2 separate regions of the Homo sapiens genome follow, and region 1 is linked to region 2. The links are contacts of gene promoters, found by promoter capture Hi-C in blood cells and fetal thymus (Javierre and others, 2016). All regions are on one chromosome and are shown on one strand. Each heading gives the region's core, a stretch centred on a gene start or on the middle of the fragment in contact. The rest is flanking DNA. Distances are from core to core; before and after follow the strand shown. Region 1 has its middle 47 kb from the start of LINC02503. Region 2 holds the start of LINC02428 (long intergenic non-protein coding RNA 2428).

Region 1 (2,700 bases), core at 139-2,638, 490 kb before region 2:
AGATCTCATCTCTACAAAAATTAAAAAACAAAAATAGCCAGGCACACTGTTTTCTGTCTGTAATCCCAGCTACTCAGTCGGCTAAGGTGGGAGGATCACTTGAGCCTGGGAGATGGAGGCTACAGTGAGCCCTGATTGCACCAATGCACTCCAGCTTGGGCTATAAAGTGAGAACCTGTCTTCAAAGCAAAAACCAAAGACAACATAAATACTATGTAAATAGTTGTTATTCTGTATTTTTTATTTGCATTATTTTTATTATTGCATTGTTTTAATTTTTAATTTTTTACTTTTTAAATACTTTTGATTCACAGTTAGTTGAATCCCCAGATGAGGAACTCACAGTTACGGAGGGCAAACTGTAGTTTTGTTTTGTTTTGTTTTAGTTTTGTTTGGTTTGGTTTTGTTTTTTGTTTGTTTTTACTGTCTTCTGTCCACTAGAGGGCACATGCCACTTGTGTTCATTTCTGACTTCCAGTTCTATTGCCTGTTAGTTCTCAATAGTAAAAAATAAGCCATTTGAAATTCCATCATGATATTCATTATTGAGATAATTTTTATTGTGTAAAACACCACATAGTAATAGCACTAGTGAGAAAAAGAAAGAACGAAGCCAGATGTAGATATTTGATATGCCTGCATACAATCAGAAGCTTGTGGATACATTAAAGATGAACTTTGGCCTGGCGCTGTAGCTCACGCTTGTAATTCCAGCACTTTGGAAGCCTGAGGCAGGCAGATCACGAGGTCAGGAGTTCGAGACCACCTTGACCAACATGGTGAAACCCTGTCTCTACTAAAAATACAAAAATTAGCCGGGCATGGTGGCACATGCCTGTAATCACAGCTACTCAGGAGGCTGAGGGAGGAGAATCACTTCAACCTGGAAGGCAGAGGTTGCAGTGAGCCAAGATCACGCCACTGCACTCCAGCCTGGGTGACAGAGCGAGACTCCATCAAAAAAATAAATAAATAAATAACTTAATAAACATCATGAATCTCCTAGATTTCTGAAATTACATGAGCTCCCAGAGCATCTACTTCTTTGTAGTGGAAGAATATGTCTAAGTATACAACTTGTAAAGGCACTATCACACTTTTAAAAAAACATAAATATCACTCCTGCCTTCTCTGATTCATTACTCCGAAAAAGCTGTTTTTATTAAGAGGTATTCCCTAGGACAACAGAGTGATATTCATGGACCCAAAAGTCTAGGAAAAACATAATTTCAAAACTTTTTTTAAAGTTTTATTTTAAGTTCCAGGATGCATGTGCAGGATGTGCAGGTTTATTATGTAGGTAAACATGTGCCATGGTGGCTTGCTGCACCTATCAACCCATCACCTAGGTATTAAGCCTTGCATGCATTAGCTATTCATCCTGATGCTTTCCCTCCCCCTACCCCCACCAGGCCACAGTGTGTGTTGTTCCCCTCCCTGTGTCCATGTGTTCTCATTGTTCAGCATGGAATGAACCCAAATGACCATCAATGATAAAGTGGATAAAGAAAATGTGGTACATATACACCAAGGAATACTATGCAGCCATAAAAAGGAACAAGATCATGTCTTTTGCAGGGACATGGATGGAGCTGGAAGTCATTATCCTTGGCAAACTAACACAGGAACAGAAAACGAAACTCTTTTTTCAGTGTGTTTTTAGTCTTTAAAAAATGATGCTTAATAACATTTGCCTTATAAAACTGAAGAGTAATAGCACAATACCTGTAATCACTATCTTCTGAGTGATTAATGAAGGTGACAATAAATAGAAACATAGGCATGATAAAAATAACTTGATTGGCATTCACAAAGTTCTTAGTGGAAAACTACAGGGATTTAAATAATTAGTTATAAATCTTCTGGTATATTTAATATTTAATGTAAACATGCCTATTTGTTTATAAACCAGAAATTTTGTGTTGAAAAATTCTACCTTAGATTAATTCTACCTCAAATACAAGAAACTCTGCTTTCAAACAACAGCATCCCATTCTTTTTTGCTATACATATATAATAAATTTCTTGTTCTATAAGTTGTGTTAACATCTATATAAATTATTCAGACATAGAGTATTTTGAAGCATGGTGGAGTCTCAGTAAATTTACAGTTAGAAGCTTATATTTGAACCACCTCTTCTCACTAGCCACATAATTAGGCCTAAAACGTCATCTATTAATTTTCAAGAGTTTTTGCTGAAAAATATGATTTTAAGATTTGTCATTTATGAGCAACAATGAATTCACCAAATTTACTTTACAATTCTTCTTGCTACTAACTGATAAAAGTACTATTGATAATGTTAGAGGAATCAGAATCACATTAATCAAGGATGAATTTCAAATAAAATACCAAAATAGAAATGCACAGTTATTGCAGAAACCATTTATTAATGATGAAGGAAGGAACACTAGGAATATTTATAGATGAAGCAGTTCTTAGACATATGAAATGAAAGAAGGAGGCTGCTGGGTTAGGGGAGAGTCAAACTGTACTGTAGCTAGGAAAAAAATATCTTTGGTAACTCACTAAAAAGCCCCAAACCAAAGATTATTCATTATTGGAACTTCTTTCTGGGCAGAAATGCCCCATTTAGTCTATCCATAATGAGAGTAAAACCCAAAATCCATGCAAAAATAGCCAAAAGCAAGCAAATGTAGTTTTCTAACATTAACATTAGAAAAAGCGGACATCTAGGC
Region 2 (2,700 bases), core at 23-2,522:
TGATGAATCCCTTCGATTTATCTTATCCTTGGCTAATTTACCTATAAAATAGGACAATAATGCCTGTTTTACAGGTTTCTTGGGGCTGCTCAGATGAGATAGTTCATATAAAGTATTGATCCTATCAAATGATTTAATAAAATGGTGACATTATTAAGATTTTTGGAGAGAAATACAGAGGGAAAAGATCTCACTATCAAAAAATATATAGCCTTTTTAAATGCAACAAGGAGGGTCACACATTTTATAGTATGACTTATTTATAAAGAGTTGTAACTCCTTTATTTTGTTCATAAATAATCTCTCCACAAAATAGAAACTCAACTACATTTGTAGTTTAAATTTAGTCCCACACCATAAATTAAAAGGCCATGCAATTTCTATTAACATTTTTATTAATACAAATATTTCATATCCCATATAGCCACCATATTTTCTGTTTCTCTCTCTAACATTGAGGGATATAAAGGGAAAAATGTATGGCTTACATATCCTTGGGTCACAAACAAGCAAGGATATCCCTTATTTCATGCAGACACTCTTGGGGCAATGTCCTTTTTAATCTGGTCACTGCAGCTCTAATGGCTTCTGATAACCCAGGCTCCCCTTGGAATCCTCATGGTTGGTTCTTGGCTTGTGCTCTCATCATAGACCACTGACCCTTGAGTGTTTACCATCTACTCCATCCAGCCTCCTAGCCTGGAATTTTCCACCTGCCTCTGCTAAGGGGTCACCTAAACTCACCAGAAGCTTCCTGATACAAAGCCAGCTGACATAACACACAGAGAGTTAACTGGGTACTCACTCTATCAGACTGTACCACTGTCCTCTAAAGTGAGTTTGTTATACCTTCTTCGTACAAAGTAAGTTAACCATATACACTATATCAGTTTGTCTAAAAAATGCTGGGTTTTATGATCTGGCCCAGTATGATTTCTTTTACTCTCAAAAATATTGCATTCTGGACAGCATACTGGATTGTCACCCAATAAATGGGTAAGCAGTAAAAAGGTCCTTCTCTTGCCATCCCACTTATTTATCTAAAATACCTGTGCCCGGCACCACCCCTTGAAAGACAAAAGCACAGAGAAGGAAATTAAGATGCAAAAACTGGACTGTTTAACTTGCCTCCCTGAGGTCCTCCTCTTCTCCCCTCCCTCTTCCAGACTCCAATCTCCTGCTGAGGTTTTATGACAAACGAAAGTATTTCTTCCACATTTCAGAAGACATCTATGAGCTAAGTCCTTCAGGCTGGATTGCTGGTATAATAATGAAGTAGGTAAACAAATGTTGCTTAATTCCTTCTGTAAACAATAGACTTGCAAAGTCTGTACTATTGCATAATCCTGTTTTTGCATGTGAAAAGCTAACATTTGGCTGTGTGCCTTGCTTTGCCAGGGCTTACTCTGCCCACTGGGTCATATTCCAGGGGCTAAGACTATAATACCTGCGTTACCCACCTTAAAGAGTTCCCTTTTATTAATTTCCTCTTAATGACCTTTTCAATCTTAGATCAATCCAACTGAGATCTCTTTCAAAAAGATTAACTTCAATTACTTAAATCCCAAAGGCAAGAAAGAGTGCTCCCTACATTATAAAGTGAATATGTATTAATGGAAAGATGAAACCAGAACTGAATAGGAGTAAAATTATAAAGAAAGCAACAGTTTGTCTCCAGATTGCTTACACATTTCTGGTCAGCATCTTCCTCAACACTGAGGCATGTTCATTTCCAAATGTCCTTCCTACCATTCCTCAGACAGGTTATTCTTTTTCTTAAGCCATGTATTTTGTTCTTGAAAAATATTCTTGGGTGCCATTTTATCTTTTACTAATATCTGCTCCCCCAAAAAGAAATAACTGGGGAAAATCTAACAAAATAACACAGTCTATGTACAGTATACTAAAAGACCAAGAGAAATATATAATTTTAATAAAAGACAACATAGGGATTTTAGAAATTTATTTTTAAAAATCTGGTTTCTTAGAAAATTGGTTTTGCAAATATAGTCCACTTGAATAATCTTTCTCTAAGAGGCAGAAATCCAGGGGCCTTGGGCATTTCTGTAAAAAGATTTTATCTGCACAACACCTTCACAAATCACACAAACATAACACACACATACACATACACAAAGTTACATAATTACATATCTTTATGCACAAAAAAGTGAGCTGAGTTCTGTGTGTTCTATGTGCCAAGCATTGTGATTACATACATTGATAGATCTAGATATGAGTCAAAACAATAAGAAATTAATAATAATTATTAACATTTTCCAACCACTTAACATGCTTAGCATGGTCATGATATACTTTTATGAGGTGATGTCATTGCATTTTTATAACAAATCTGTGGGATAGGTACCACTGCTATTTATACTTGATGAATGAGGATAAAAAGACTGACAGAAGTTAAATAACTTGCTCAGGATCACACAGCTAATAAGTAGGCCAGCCAGGATTTAAACCCAGACTTTCTGCTTCCAGAACCTGCACTCCCCACCACTAACCTATACTGCTTACCAGAAAGGGAAAAGGAATAAGAAGCAGTCAGTCTAGGAGACAAATATCATGTGCAGGGCTAGAATGCACAGCAGGTAACACACAACCAAGATTCTGAAAGAACTTTCAGGTGAAGAAGCAAGCCTAACATAGCAGTGAAGCTACCCTTCCAGTAGTTCAGCTCTCAGCTCTCCT

The links. Contacts are between HindIII fragments. The CHiCAGO score rates a contact against its expected background, and 5 or more counts as called.
Region 1: a fragment that was not itself captured here is called in contact with the fragment with the promoter of LINC02428 in region 2 in 1 of 17 cell types (erythroblasts); the score reaches 6.6 in erythroblasts.

The regions. Positions count from the first base shown.
Region 1 is chr4:103,913,160-103,915,859 of GRCh38, reverse strand. No RefSeq gene overlaps it. Among named protein-coding and RNA genes, the nearest start is that of LINC02503, 47 kb to the left of the region's middle. The HindIII fragment of the contact is 1,465 bases long and covers 656-2,120 here.
Region 2 is chr4:103,423,614-103,426,313 of GRCh38, reverse strand. LINC02428 (long intergenic non-protein coding RNA 2428) reads right to left here and starts at 1,272. Exons shown (of 4, transcript NR_125925.1): 1 at 1,129-1,272. RefSeq lists an enhancer at 1,043-1,544. The HindIII fragment of the contact is 12,082 bases long and covers 753-2,700 here.